5 separate regions of the Homo sapiens genome follow, and all the other regions are linked to region 5. The links are contacts of gene promoters, found by promoter capture Hi-C in human tissues and cell types (Jung and others, 2019). All regions are on one chromosome and are shown on one strand. The core of a region is centred on a gene start or on the middle of the fragment in contact, and the rest is flanking DNA. Distances in the headings are between cores, read along the strand shown.

The links. Contacts are between HindIII fragments. The study calls those that stand out against the background at their distance.
Region 1: a contact is called between a fragment that was not itself captured here and the fragment with the promoter of PTGIR in region 5, in 1 of the 25 tissues and cell types used here (psoas muscle).
Region 2: a fragment that was not itself captured here is called in contact with the fragment with the promoter of PTGIR in region 5 in 1 of the 25 tissues and cell types used here (dorsolateral prefrontal cortex).
Region 3: a fragment that was not itself captured here is called in contact with the fragment with the promoter of PTGIR in region 5 in 2 of the 25 tissues and cell types used here (dorsolateral prefrontal cortex and lymphoblastoid cells).
Region 4: a fragment that was not itself captured here is called in contact with the fragment with the promoter of PTGIR in region 5 in 2 of the 25 tissues and cell types used here (dorsolateral prefrontal cortex and small bowel).

Annotation. Positions count from the first base shown.
Region 1 is chr19:46,399,037-46,402,016 of GRCh38, reverse strand. The region is part of intron 1 of PPP5C-AS1 (PPP5C antisense RNA 1); the gene reads left to right. Among named protein-coding and RNA genes, the nearest start is that of PPP5C-AS1, 3.7 kb to the left of the region's middle. The HindIII fragment of the contact is 5,392 bases long and covers 1-2,980 here.
Region 2 is chr19:46,421,137-46,424,284 of GRCh38, reverse strand. No RefSeq gene overlaps it. Among named protein-coding and RNA genes, the nearest start is that of PNMA8C, 6.2 kb to the left of the region's middle. RefSeq lists an enhancer at 776-825. The HindIII fragment of the contact is 8,713 bases long and covers 1-3,148 here.
Region 3 is chr19:46,814,741-46,817,700 of GRCh38, reverse strand. No RefSeq gene overlaps it. Among named protein-coding and RNA genes, the nearest start is that of SNAR-E, 14 kb to the left of the region's middle. The HindIII fragment of the contact is 5,866 bases long and covers 1-2,960 here.
Region 4 is chr19:46,761,566-46,764,631 of GRCh38, reverse strand. No RefSeq gene overlaps it. Among named protein-coding and RNA genes, the nearest start is that of STRN4, 17 kb to the right of the region's middle. RefSeq lists a silencer at 2,886-3,066. The HindIII fragment of the contact is 5,780 bases long and covers 1-3,066 here.
Region 5 is chr19:46,623,526-46,626,485 of GRCh38, reverse strand. PTGIR (prostaglandin I2 receptor) reads left to right here and starts at 1,397. Exons shown (of 3, transcript NM_000960.4): 1 at 1,397-1,489; 2 at 2,249-2,960. The coding sequence starts at 2,261. RefSeq lists an enhancer at 682-1,182. The HindIII fragment of the contact is 28,599 bases long and covers 1-2,960 here.

The DNA.
Region 1 (2,980 bases), core at 84-2,583, 220 kb after region 5:
GAGACGAGGTTTCACCATGTTGGCCAGGCTGGTCTCGAACTCCTGACCTCGTGATCTGCGTGCCTCGGCCTCCCAAAGTGCTGCGATTACAGGCGTGAGCCAACTTATTAGTATCTCTGTCCTCGGGATCCCACTTCAGAATCGCCCAGGACTCAGATGTGGAATGGACACTTTAGTGGCCTGCAGATGGCAGCAGGGGGGGTTCACTATTTGTAACACAAAAAGGGATTTAAATAGTGCCTGCAGGGTCCAGTCTCCCAATTTAAACTTTGGCATTTGTGGTTTCAAACTCACAGAATCTGAACGGTTGCCCCAAAAGACCGATGTCTTGATTCCAAATCAGCCTCTATCTGACAGGCCCAGCTGCCACCCGCTGCCACAAAAAAACAAGTTCAGGGGAACAGTTTGGTTTTTTGTTTGTTTGTTTTTGAGAAGGAGTCTCGCTTTGTCACCCAGGCTGGAGGGCAGTGAAGCGATCTCGGTTCACTGCAACCTTTGCCTCCCGGGCTCAAGCGATTCTTCTGCCCTCGGCCTCCCTAATGGCTGGGATTACAGGCTCCTGCCACCACACCTGGCTAATTTTTGTATTTTTAGTAGAGACGGGGTTTCACCATGTTGGCCTGGCTGGTCTTGAACTCCTGATCTCAAGTGATCCACCTGCCTTGGCCTCCCAAAGTGCTGGGATTACAGGGGTGAGCCACCGCCCCCAGCCTCACTCTTTACTACGGGCAGATTCGTCATAGCCTTGGGGGTTGAACTCTGTAATTCTCACAGCAGCCCAGGGATGCAGCTTCTATTATTATCATCCCCATTATATAGATGAGGAACCTGTGGCTTAAGGAATTGAGGGACCTCTCCAGGGTCACAAGGCATGGTGGAGACAGAGGCAGGGGCCTTAGCCAGGGCAGGACACAGAGGCAGAGGCCTCAAATGGCAGGATGAAGAAATGGAATGCCTTCCTATGAGAAGGAGGGAAGTAATGGAAGGGAAGGGAGAATAAGGGCCTATTTATCAATGAGGATAGGTCAGGCTTTACGTTTGCATCCAAGCTTCAGGGGAACCTTGAAGTCTTGGAGTTCTTTTTTCTTTTTTTTTTTTTTTTTTTGAGACGGAGTCTCGCTCTGTCACCAGGTTGGAGTGCAGTGGTGCAATCTCAGCTCACTGCAACCTCCAGCTCCCTGGTTCCAGTGATTCTCTTGCCTCAGCCTCCGAGTAGCTGAGATTACAGGCACGTGTCACCATGCCCGGCTAATTTTTGTATTTTTAGTAGAGACGGGGTTTCACCATATTGGCCAGGGTGGTCTTGATCTCCTGACCTCGTGATCCACCCACCTCGGCCTCCCAAAGTGCTGGGATTACAGGCGTGAGCCACTGCGCCTGGCTGGACGTTTTTACTTTAAGAAGTCCCTGAAGGATGCAGACTAGGGGGCTATTAGAAAGAACAGTTGCCCAGGCGCAGTGGCTCATGCCTATAATTCCAGCACTTTGGGAGGCTGAGGCAGGAGGATGGCTTGAGCTCAGGAGTGAGAAAAGACTGGGCAACATGGTGAAACCCTGTCTCTACAAAAAATTAGTCGGGCGTGGTGGCATGTGTTCCCAGCTATTCAGGAGGCTGAGGTGGGAGGAGATAGCTTGAGCCCAGGAGATGGAGGCTGCAGTTAGCTGAGATCGTGCTACTGCACTCCAACCCGAGTGACAGAGCAAGACCCTGTCTCAAAAAAAAAAAAAAAAAAAAAAAAGAAAAAAGAAAAAAAAGAAGGAAGGCAAGAGAAAGAAAGAAAGATCCTTACAGGCCTGCCTAGAAAAAAATGTCCAGATAATAATAAGGAAAAAAATGATAGAAATACATATGTAGAATGAGTCCATTTTGGTTAAATAAATAAATTTATAAAACTAACATTTATCGCCTGCTAAGACATGCCAGGGATTGTCTGAATGTTTTTGTTCGTTTGTTTTTGAGAGGGAGTCTCGCTCTGTCGCCCAGGCTGGAGTGCAGTGGCACGATCTCGGCTCACTGCAAGCTCCGCCTCCCGGGTTCACGCCATTCTCCTGCCTCAGCCTCCCGAGTAGCTGGGACTACAGGCGCCCGCCACCACGCCCGGCCTGTCTGAATGTTTTCTATGGGCTTTGTCACTAATCCCACAACTGTTAACTATTCCCGTTTTACAGGCGCAGAGGTCGCACAATGCCCAAGGATGGCAAAGTGAGGTGGCAAACCTAGGTCTTCTGACTCCAGAGCCCAGGCTCTCAACCCCTGTGCCCTGGTGCAGGTGGCTCTGGACTTGCTTGGTGCACCAGACCTTAGTAATTCAGTCATTTTTTCCATAGCGCCCCCAAAGAAATACCTAACAGTTCCATTCTCATCTGGTGAGGTCTAAACAACCTAAGCTCTTATGTCCTAAGAAGTTAGTAGCCATTTGAAAATATGTAGAGCTAAGGAGTTTGAGATCAGCCTGGGCAACATAGCGAGACCTTGTCTTTATTAACATAAAAAATGAAAATATATAGACACATAAATTGAAAGAAAACAATTTTTTTTTTACTTCATTCTTAACCGTATTTCCTTACTAAGGGGAACGTGTGTGCTTGTTAGGCACTGCACCAGTTCTCAAAACCCTGGGAACAGACTGAACACCGCCACCCTCAGTTCCTGGTTGGCATTGATTTTCTGGTGGGACTTGCCTTTTATCCCTGCAACCAATGAAAATGCAGGTTGGGGCCAGGCGCGGTGGCGCACGCCTGTAATCCCAGCTACTCGGGAGGGTGAGGCAGGAGAATTGCTTGAACCCGGGAGGCGGAGGTTGCAGTGAGCCGAGATCCCGCCACTGCACTCCAGCCTGGGCGACAGAGTGAGACTCTGTCTGGGGAAAAAAAAAAAACAAAAAAAAAAAACCACAGACAGCATATGTCCACTCCTGTGAACCATTCGATTTGGAATCATTTGGCACCTTCATCAATAGGGTGTTGGGGTTGGGCACTA
Region 2 (3,148 bases), core at 244-2,743, 200 kb after region 5:
CAGGTGTGAGCCACCGCGCCCGGCGGAAACACAGCTTTCTTTTATCCTACGGACTTCTCAGGATGTCAGGTCATTTTCCAGTGGCTGGTGTGAAAGGTGAAACAATTTAACTGAAACAAAAACAGTAACAGCTATCTTGTGTTCCAGGCACTATGCCACATTCCTTCATATCATTAACCCATCATATCCTGCCAACCCTGTGAGTTATGGCCCTATAGGTCCACAATCCCTTATAAAAACCCTCAGCCAGGTGTGGTTTCAGGGGTATATGTGGTTCAGAGTTTTGGATTTTAGAAAAATGATACAGTGACTATACCTTATATTGTAGAATTTACTTCCCAGGGGGATGCGGGAAGCCCTTATAATCCCATCAATACTTCTGTAGTGGGCTAGGTGCAGTGGGTCACGCCTGTAATCCCAGTACTTTGGGAGGCCAAGGTGGGAGAATTGCTTGAGGCCAGGAGTTCAAAACCAGCCTGGTCAACACAGCAAGACCCCTATCTCTACAAAAACTAAAAAAAAAAAAAAAAAAATTAGGCACGGTGGCATGCACCTGTAGTCCCAGCTACTCTGGAGGCTGAGGTGGAAGGATCGCTTGAGGCCAGCAGATCAAGGCTGCAGTGAACTGTGATTGCACCACTGCACTCCAGCCTGGATGACAGAGTGATACCCCCCTACATCTCAAAAAAAAAAAAAAGACCAGATAAGAGATTAGATTATCAAACTGTACTATTATTAAGATCATCATCTCATTCTATGGATGAAGAAAGTAAAGCTCAGAAAGGCTAAGTAACTTGTCTAAGGCTACAGAGCAAAGCACAACAGGAATTGAAAACAGGCCTCTGACCACATTCTGTGCTCCTCACACTGATTCGGGTCTCTCTCAGTCTGGGAGGCCCCAGCTGACATCGGAGTCATAGAGCATGATTTCTCTGGTAAACGGCTGGGCAGAAGAAATTCTTCAGGATTCCTTGAGAAACAAGCCAGAGGTGGGTGGCACTCTGAGGGCCTGTTTGAAACTGCAGTACACGCTCTGGTTCTAAGTGGGGGCTTAGAGCAGAGAATAATCTTCGTGCATATTGAATAATCATATCTACCAGGCACTATTCTAAGCATTTTACACAAACAATTTAATCCTCATAAGACTCAACACCATGAGACTGATACAATCTCATTCTCCAGATTTGGAAACTGAGGCACAGAGCCACACGATTTGTAAACAGAGCCAGGATGTGAACCGGAACTGAGTCTACAAACAGCTAGACCACACTGCTTTTTTTTTTTTTTTTTTTTTTGAGATGGAGTCTCGCTCTGTGGCCCAGGCTGGAGTGTTGTGGTGCGATCTTGGCTCACTGCAACCTCCGCCTCCTAGGTTCAAGTGATTCTCCTGCCTCAGCCTCCCAAGTAGCTGGGACTAAAGGCGCGTGCCACTACGCCCGGCTAATTTTTTGTATTTTTAGTAGAGTCAGGGTGTCACCATGTTAGCCAGGATGGTCTCGATCTCCTGACCTTGTGATCTGCCCGCCTTGGCCTCCCAAAGTGCTGGGATTACAGGCATGAGCCACCATGCCTGGCCCACTCTGCCTTTTCTAATAACTGTGAGCATTTACCATCCCTGGGTTCTGTGCCAATACCTATCATGGTCTCGTGAACTGCTCACAACCTCTCCATGAGGTTAAGTCTCATTACAACTGCCATTTTGCAGAGAAGGAAGCCAAGGCTCAGAGAGGTGAAGGAACTGACCCAAGATCACACAGCCACAGGGTGATAGAGCCAGAATTTGAACCCAGGCAGCCTAGCTCCAGAGCCCACGTGCTCCACCACATGGAGGGCTGGCACAGCACAAAGAGGAATGAGGTCTTGGTGGATCCAGGGAGACAGCACCCTGAGGCCTCCTCCCAACAGTCCTTGGTGAGAAACAGGGATTCTGAAGGCAGTCTCTGAGTCTCTGAGTGACCGACACATAACTTGTGATTCCGGCCAGGTGCAGTGGTTCACGCCTGTAATCCCAGCACTTTTGGAGGCTGAGGCAGGTGGATCACTTGAGGCTAGGAGTTTGAGACCAGCCTGGCCAACATGGTGAAACCCCGTCTCAACTAAAAATACAAAAATTAGCCGGGCGTGGTGTTGCGCACCTGTAATCCCAGCTACTCGGGAGGCTGAGGTGGGAGAATAGCATAAAGCTGGGAGGCAGAGGTTCCAGTGAGCCAAGATCATGCTACTGCACTCCAGCCTGGGCGACAGAGTAAGACTCCGTCTCAAAAAGGAAAAAAACATATATATACGTATATCCCAGCTGCATGTGCCCTCTGGTGCTGTGGGACCCCTGGCTGATGGGGCAGGAAGTTGGGGGGAACAGGGAAGGGGTGGGCATATGTGCCTAGGTGGGCACAGAGCACACAGCTCTTCACCTGCTGTTCCCTCTGACTTTCAGTCGCCCTTCAGGCTTTCTTTTTTTTTTTTTCTTTTTTATTTTTTGAGACGGAGTCTCACTCTGTTACCCAGGCTGGAGTGCAGTGGCGCGATCTCAGCTCACTGCAAGCTCCGCCTCCAGGGTTCACGCCATTCTCCTGCCTCAGTCTCCCTAGTAGCTGGGACTACAGGCGCCCGCCACCACGCCCAGCTAATTTTTTTTGTATTTTTAGTAGAGACGGGGTTTCACTGTGTTAGTCAGGATGGTCTCGATCTCCTGACCTCGTGATCCGCCTGTCTCGGCCTCCCAAAGTGCTGGGATTACAGGCGTGAGCCACGGCGCCCGGCAGCAGCTTTATTTCTAAGAACCAAAAACTAGAAACAACTCGATGGCCGACGACAGGTGAATGAATAAACAAACTGCAATGTATTCATGCAACAGAATATGACCTAGCAACAAAAAAGAATGTACTGGCCGGGCGCGGTCGCCCTCCCAGCACCTTGGGAGGCTGAGGCGGGCAGATCATGAGGTCAAGAGATCGAGACCATCCTGGCCAACATGGTGAAACCCTGTCTCTACTAAAAAGACAAAAACTAGCTGGGCGTGGTGGCGGGTGCCTGTAGTCCCAGCTACTCGGGAGGCTGAGGCAGAAGAATTGCTTGAACCGGGGAGGCGGAGGTTGTGGTGAGCCAAGATTGTGCCACAGCACTCCTCCTGTCACAGTTTGGTGACAGA
Region 3 (2,960 bases), core at 415-2,914, 190 kb before region 5:
TTGTAGCCCAGGCTGGAGTGCAATGGCGTGATCTCGGCTCACTGCAACCTCCACCTTCCAGGTTCAAGCAATTCTCCTGCCTCAGCCTCCTGAGTTGCTGAGATTACAGGTGCCTGCCACCACACCTGGCTAATATTTTGTAATTTTTTTTTTTGTAGAGACAGGGCTTCACCATGTTAGCCAGGATGGTCTCGATCTCCTGACCTCGTGATCCGCCCGCCTCGGCCTCCCAAAGTACTTGGATTACAGGTGTGAGCCACCGCGCCTGGCTGCCATATACTCTTTCTCAAGACCTCTTCTCTTGAGCCTAGGGATGGTTCCCCTCTTGCTTACTCAACGACAACAATCCAGCCACTTTCCTCTCTTGCTTCTCTTCTGGAATCTAGAAATCCAGATCATTCCCATCAGCACATGAACCAGCTGTTTGATCTTCTCTGCTCTTCTGACCTTTCTATCAAAAGAATTGACTTTTAGCTGGGCATGGTGGCTCATACCCATAATCTCAGCACTTTGGGAGGCTGAGGTGGGAGGATCACTTGAGCTCAGCAGTTCGAGGCTGGATTGAGCTACAACGGTGCCTCCACTCCAGCCTGGGTGACATAGTGAGATCCTGTTTCTACAAAACATTTTTTTCTATTTTGAGACAGAGTCTCGTGATGTCACCCAGGCTGGAGTGCAGTGGCGTGATCTTGGCTCACTGCAGCCTCCGCCTCCTGGGTTAAAGCGATTCTTCTGCCTCAACCTCCCTAGTAGCTGAGACTCCAGGTGCCTGCCACCACACCCGGCTAATTATTGTATTTTTAGTAGAGATGGAGTTTCACCATGTTGGCCATGCTGGTCTTGAACTCCTGACCTCAGGTGATCCGTCCGCCTCAGCGTCCCAAAGTGCTGGGATTACAGGCTTGAGCCACCATACCCAGCCTACAAAACATTTTTAAAAATAATAAACCAGGCATGGTAGCACACGCCTGTAGTGAGCCATGATGTCACCACAGCACTCCAGTCTGGGTGACAGAGTGAGACCCTGTCTCAAAAAAAAAAAAAAAAAAAAAATTAACCCTGTACCTGGCCGTAATGAATCAACAATTGGAAGCTGTGTTATTATAAAGACGGGTGAACATATGGGCCCCTTTGCTGGTCCCCATCTGGCCTGGCTCTCCTGTTCTCCACCCTGCACACTCATGCCTGGGAACCTGCGTCTCCTCTCAGCCTCCCCAACGGCGGCCCAACCCACATGGCGTTTGATCTGCCCACTTCAGAGCCTTCACCTCCGGCCTGCAGCCCATCAGAGGCGGCTGGATCCCGGCCTCCTCCCCACATGGGCCTTTGAGGATGGGATGAAAGAGGCTAGGCTGAAACCAGTGTGAATGGCCAAACGGGGAACTCAGGAATCCCTGGTGCTACGCCCAGGAACAGAGGTGCGCGGCGGGGAGGCAGAGCAAGGGATGCTTCTTGGGGCTTGCTGGCAGTGCCAGAATGACCTGGGCATTTACCGACCACCTCCTGTGTGCTCAGGCCTGTGCTAGGTGATGCTGAGGACATAGTGGTGACTGGCCTGGCCGTCAGAGGGCTCACAGGCCAGCGGAGCAGATAGGCCAGTGCCCCAAGAGCAACAACCTAGTGGGAACAGGGCTGGGATGGGAAAACCTAGTTGATGCAGTCAAGAAGGGCTTCCTGGAAGAGGAGGTTCTTAAGTTCTTCACAGAGTCTATGATGCCCATCTCAACCTACCTCTTCAGCCACATCTGATGACACTTCCCCACAATCCCTTGAATCCAGCCACCCTGTTCCTTCTAATTCTTTTCATTTTTGTTTATTTATTTATTTTGAGACAGAATCTCGCTCTGTCGCCCAGGCTGGAGTGCAGTGGCGTGATCTCGGCTCACTACAACCTCCACCTCCTGGGTTCAAGCAATTCTTTTGCCTCAGCCTCCCAAGTAGTTGGGATTACAGGCGCCCGCCAACATGCCCAGCTAATTTTTGTATTTTTAGTAGAGACGGGGTTCCACTATGTTGGCCAGGCTGGTCTTGAACTCCCGACCTCAGATGATCCACCCGCCTTGGCCTCCCAAAGTGCTGGGATTACAGGTGTGAGCCATGGCCCCTGGTCTCCATCTGATTCCTGACCACTTCAAGTTCATTCTCACGTCTGGTTCATTGCACTTGCTATTTCTTTTGCCAGCTTCTCTCTTCTCAGTCCCTCATCAGGCAGGTTCCTTATCCTCACTCAGATTGCAGACGAATTCTTCTTGCAGCACTGAGCTCTTTCAAAAAATTGTCTTGGCCAGGTGCAGTGGCTCATGCCTGTAATCTCAGCACTGTGGGAGGCTGAAGCAGGAGGATCCCTTGAGCCCAGGAGTTTAAGACCAGTCTGGGCAACATAGTGAGACCTCATCTCTACAAAAAAATCAAAAAAATTAGCTGGGCATGGTGGTGCACGCCTGTAGTCCCAGCTACTCAGGAGGCTGAGTTGAGAGGATTGTTTGAGCCCAGGAGTTCAAGGCTGCAGTGAGCTATGATCACACTGCTGCACTCCAGCCTGGGTGATGGGGTGAGACTCTGTCTCTAAAAATAAATTTTAAAATAGTTCTCTTATGTCAAGTGCTGGGGCTCACACCTGTAAACACTAGGATTTTGGGAGGCTGAGGTGGGAGGATCACTTGAGCCCAGGAATTTGAGTCCAGCCTGAGGAAAATAGCGAGACCTCATCTCCAAAAACAAATAGGCCAGGTACGGTGGCTTAAGCCTGTAATCCTAGCAGTTTGGGAGGCCGAGGTGGGCAGATCACCTGAGGTCAGGAGTTCGAGACCAGCCTGGCCAACATGGTGAAATCCTGTCTCTACTAAAAACAGAAAAAACTAGCCGGGTGTGGTGGTGCACACCTGCAATCCCAACTACTCAGGGGACTGAGGCAGGAGAATCACTTGAAACTGGGAGGTGGAGGTTGCAGTGAGCTGAGA
Region 4 (3,066 bases), core at 469-2,968, 140 kb before region 5:
CTGTTGGATTCTGCCCCCATCTGCTCTTTTTGAGGTCAACTTTATTGAGGTATAATTTACATACAATAGGCCGGGCAAGGTGGCTCACACCTGTAATCCTAGCACTTTGGGAGGTCAAGGCAAATCATTTGAGGCCAGGAGTTCAAGACCAGCCTGGCCAACATGGTGAAACTCCATCTCCACTAAAAATACAAAAATTAACCAGGTGTGGTTGTGCACACCTGTAATCCCAGCTACTCAGGTGGCTGAGGCATGAGAATCACTTGAATCCAGAAGGTAGAGGTTGCAGTGAGCCAAGACTGCACCACTGCACTCTAGCCTGGGCAACAGAGCAAGGCTGGCTCCAAAAAAATTGTTTCATATGATAAATTGCACCCGTTAAAATCAATTAGGCCAGGCTCATGCCTGTAATTCCAGCACTTTGAGAGGCCGAGGCAGAAGGATCGCTTGAGCCCAGGAGTTTGAGACCAGCCTGAGCAATGCTGCGAGACCCTGTCTCAAAATAAATAAATAAATAAATAAAATACAGTTAAATGAGTTTTGACAGATGAATATACTGTGAAAAACCACTCCCATAATCAAGATACATGATATTCTCATCATCCCCAAATTTCCTCATGCTTCTTTGCAGTCTGCCCCTCTCTCCAGCTCCAGGCCCCGGTAACCACTGATCTGCTTTTGGTCACTATGAATTAGTTTTACCTCTTCTAGAATTTTACATTGGTGGAATCATATACTATGTAGCGTCTTGCATCTGGCTTTTTTTTATGTGTCATAATGCTTTTGGGATTTATTCTTATTTTTGCATGTATCAGTAGTTTGTTCTTTCTTTTCTTTTCTTTTTTTTTTTTTGAGATGGAGTTTCACTCTTGTTGCCCAGACTGGAGTGCAATGGCACAATCTCGGCTCACTACAACCTCCGCCTCCCGAGTTCAAGTGATTCTCCTGCCTTGGCCTCCCAAGTGGCTGGGATTACAGGCATGTGCCACCATGCCCAGCTAATTTTGTATTTTTAGTAGAGACAGGGTTTTGCCATGTTGGTCAGGCTGGTCTTGAACTCCCGACCTCAGGTGATCGGCCCGCCTCGACCTCCCAAAGTGCTGGGATTACAGGCGTGAGCCACCACGTCCGGCCCAGTTCTTTCCTTTTTTAAAAAACTTGCTAAGGAGTATTATGTTGTCTGAGTGTACCACAGTTTGCTTATCCACCCACCTGTTGATTTACATCTGATGGTTTCCAGGTTGGGGCTATTGTGCATAAAGGTGCATTTGTAGACAGGTTTTTTATTTTTTATTTACCTTATTTTATTTTTGAGACAGAATCTTGCTCTGTTGCCCAGGCTGGAGTGCAGTGGTGCAATCTCGGCTCACTGCAACCTCCACCTCCCAGGTTCAAGCAATTCTCCTGCCTCAGCTTCCTGAGTAGCTGGGATTACAGGCACCCACCATCACGCCCGGCTAATTTTTGTATTTTTAGTAGGGATGGGGTTTCACCATGTTGTTCAGGCTGGTCTTGAACTCCTGACCTCAAGTAATCCGCCCTCTTCGGCCTCCCAAAGTGCTGGGATTACAGGTGTGAGCCGCCACACCTGGCTAATTTTTGTATTTTTAGTAGAGACGTGGTTTCACCATGTTGACTGGGCTGGTCTCAAACTCCTGACCTCAAGTGATCTGCCCGCCTCAGCCTCCCAAAGTGCTGGGATTACAGGCATGAGCCACTCGCCCCTCCTAAATTTTTTTGGTAGAGACAGGGTCTCAACATATTACCCTGGGTGGCCTCCACCTCCTGGGCTCATGTGATCCTCCAGCCTTGGTCTTCCAAAGCGTTGGGATTACAGGCATTAGCCACCACACCTGGCTAATGTAGACAGGTCTTTACATGCCACTATTGTTCATAGCAAATATTTTGTAACATGTAGGGCTGATAGACAAAATATTTACTGCTTGGCAAAGTCATCAGTCCATCCAACATCCGGGATATGGGTCCCTCTTATCTCCCACTATACCCAGTTTAACCCCTGGACTTCTGGGCCAGAGGGCAGCCCAGGGGATCCCCAGGGAGAGCTAGGAGGATACTAATAGTCAGGGGGTTCATGGCAGTGACCGTTTATGAATGAGTAAATAATCCATAATTTAGTGTTTTGCTGTCTTAACCACTGGCGTGGCCATACCAGGGCGTGTGCTGGCTTGAATGTCAGTTCTGGGAAAGTTCTCTCTGTTCTCCTGAAATGAAGTTCATAGACAGTATAACCCACTGGCACATGATTTAACATGATTTAAGAAAATCCTACTTTGGGAGGCCAAGGTGGGCAGATCACTCGAGTCCAGGAATTTGAGACCAGCCTGAGCAACATGGTGAAACCCCATCTCTACTTAAAATACACACACACACACACACACACACACACACACACGTATTTTTAGTAGAGATGGGGTTTCACCATGTTGGCCAGGCTGGTCTCGAACTCCTGACCTCAAGTAATCCATCCGCCTTGGCCTCCCAAACTGCTGGCATTACAGGCGTGCGACACCGCACCTAGCTAATTTTTGTATTTTTAGTAGAGACATTATATATATAAATATATTTATATATATATATATATAAAAGCTGGGTGTGGTAGTACTTATCTGTAGTCCCAGCTACTCGGGAGGCTGAGGTGGGAGAATCGCCTGAGCCTGGGAAGTTGAGGCTGCAGTGAGCCAAGACTGTGCCACTGCACTGCAGCCTGGGTGACAGAGTGAGACCCTGTCTCAGAAACAACAACAACAGCAGCAGCAACAAAAACGATCCTTGATTGCCCTAAATGTAATAAAAAGGAGAAATAAGAACATAGTAACTTACAATAAGCATTTCATTATGCGGATGTGTGGAGCCAGTCCCCTAGAACCCAAGGAGGTAGGCAGATGTTTATGCCTGTAATATAGACAGTTCCAACACATTGAAAACACGTGGACTGGTGTCCAATTACCAAGAGCCATGTGCAATGTGAGTTTTTTCACATGGTGGACAACCTTTGGCCAAGTTTTGAACAAAACACGATACAAGCTTCCCTCATTTTTTGTGGTA
Region 5 (2,960 bases), core at 148-2,647:
AGGGGTTGTGGTCACACACCGGGGTACAGAGGGCAAGACGGCAGCTGCCCACAGTCCAGTCCTTGGGTTGGACACATCCCTCCTGGCCTTGGACAAGAGACACCCGCACAGCCTCTCTCCTTGTTACAAAGACCAATCTGGGATGTGCTGCAGGCCGAGGCTGGCCACCAGGTCCCTGAGGCCCGTGTTACCCCACGCACAGAGAAGGAGGCTGAAGTCTACCAGCTCCCTCTCCTCACCTGGGACCATCTCGCAGCAAGAAAAAAGGTGGTCAGATGGAAACAGGAAGCCAAGTCGAATGGATCTGAGACCGTCCCCCTGAGAAACAGCGGGGCTCAGAGAGGGTCTCTGAGGTTTTATCTGGCCCTTTTGGGCTGGGAGGCTGCCTGGGAAGCCACCGACTCCGTGGGAAGGGAGACCCGTGAACGCTGTGCGGGTAGCGGGAACATGTGGGTCTGTCACACTGGCCCGAGGCTGCAGCGGTGGTGGCTTGGCTGTGTTTGGGGAGGGTGGGGGACACATGGCAGCAATGTTGGAGCTGTGGACAGCTTCCTGTGATCAAAATATGATTCCTGAAGGTCAAGGTCACCAGAGCTTGGCCTGGGGCCTAGGGGTGCTGTGCGAGAAGTCGGACGGTGGCCCAGTGCTACCTTTCCATCATGGGCCATGGAAGTCTCCCAAGCCTGTCCCTGACAACTGGACACCAAATACACCCCTTCATGCTTTCTTCTCGGGTCTCTGCAGGGTGAGCTGGGTGCCCAGGGACAGGCTCGAGGGACTGGCATGTCTCTCTCTGGCCAAGCCTCCTTCCTCAGCTTTCTGGAAGGAGTGAATTGTGTCCAGGGACCAGAACTCTCAGTGGTGTCTGGAAAACACTACATCAGAGAGGAATTTCCTGGTCATTTCTCAATCCCTGGGCAATGTCCTCAGCCCCGGGGCCTGGAGCCCAGAATAGATCCCAGAGGCCACCCTGAGACAGCCCAGGCCAAGACCACCCCACTGAAGCCTGGTCAACTGTGCTCTTCAGGTCCCTCCTAGAGGCCCCCTACTACCCCGGGAGGCTCCAAGCCTAAGTGATGGTGACTCAGGAATTCCCCACCCAGGCCAGAGAGGGAGACACTGGGGGAGGGAGGAGACCTGTGTGTGGGGAGGTGGCAGGTGGCTCAGTGATGGGAACCAAGAGAGGATGTGGGGAGGAGAGTGGAGGCAGCGATGGGAGATGGATGTCCTGGATTGGGCGGGTGGACGGGGAGTGGGGAGTGTGCCAGGGGGCCCTCTGGAGAACAGTGAGGGAGGGCGGGGCAGAGAGAGGAAATGAAAAAGCTGGGGTGAGCAGGCAAGCTGAGGAGGGTGGGAAGGAGGGAGGGACGGAGGGAGGAGGGAAGGAGAAGCTGACACACAGACCGACACAGGCAGCGAGAGACACGAGGAGCAAAGCAAGTGAAGGCACAGACGCACGGGACAGGAGAGCCTGGGCAAGACTGGAGAGGTGCGGTGAGGGGCTGGGGATGCAGCAACACAGAGCAGGAGCAGGTAGAGGGTGTGGGGTTAGAGGGAGAAAGGTACGGGGAGGACAAGGACAAGGGAGGGGACAGAGACAGGGAGATATCAGCAAGAGACCGAGAGACAGGGAGGGAAAGAACTGGCAATGCCCGGATGTTCTCTGTCTCTTTAATGGCAGAAACAGAGCTAGAGAAGGAAAGAAACAGGAGGTGGTGGGGGGGTGGTGGGTGTCAGGCATGGTGGCTCACACCTGTAATCTCAGCACTTTGGGAAGCCAAGGTGGATGGATCACCTGAGGTCAGGAGTTCGAGACCAGCCTGACCAACATGGTGGAACCCCGTCTCTACTGAAAATACAAAAATTAGCTGGGCGTGGTAGTGGACGCCTGTAATCTCATCTACTCCAGAGGCTGGGGCAGGAGAATCGCTTGAACCCAGGAGGTGGAGGTTGCAGTGAGCCGAGATCATGCCATTGCTCTCCATCCTGGACAACAGAGTGAGACTCTGTCTCAAAAGAAACGAAAGAAAAGAAAGAGAGAAAGAGAAACAGGAAGGTGGGGAGAGACAGAGAGAGATACTGGAGAAGCCAGAGGGGAGAGGACTGCATACCCGCACACACAGGAGAACTGGGGGTTGGCTGGGAGGCCCCAGCTGCCAAAAGGACTGGCCAGCAGGGACATCTGAGTGGGCTGGGTGGTGGGGGTAGCCCTGGCTCCCTCTGACCCCCCACCTTGGGAACCCTCCAGCCCAGACCTGGGATGGCGGATTCGTGCAGGAACCTCACCTACGTGCGGGGCTCGGTGGGGCCGGCCACCAGCACCCTGATGTTCGTGGCCGGTGTGGTGGGCAACGGGCTGGCCCTGGGCATCCTGAGCGCACGGCGACCGGCGCGCCCCTCGGCCTTCGCGGTGCTGGTGACCGGACTGGCGGCCACCGACCTGCTGGGCACCAGCTTCCTGAGCCCGGCCGTGTTCGTGGCCTATGCGCGCAACAGCTCCCTGCTGGGCCTGGCCCGAGGCGGCCCCGCCCTGTGCGATGCCTTCGCCTTCGCCATGACCTTCTTCGGCCTGGCGTCCATGCTCATCCTCTTTGCCATGGCCGTGGAGCGCTGCCTGGCGCTGAGCCACCCCTACCTCTACGCGCAGCTGGACGGGCCCCGCTGCGCCCGCCTGGCGCTGCCAGCCATCTACGCCTTCTGCGTCCTCTTCTGCGCGCTGCCCCTGCTGGGCCTGGGCCAACACCAGCAGTACTGCCCCGGCAGCTGGTGCTTCCTCCGCATGCGCTGGGCCCAGCCGGGCGGCGCCGCCTTCTCGCTGGCCTACGCCGGCCTGGTGGCCCTGCTGGTGGCTGCCATCTTCCTCTGCAACGGCTCGGTCACCCTCAGCCTCTGCCGCATGTACCGCCAGCAGAAGCGCCACCAGGGCTCTCTGGGTCCACGGCCGCGCACCGGAGAGGACG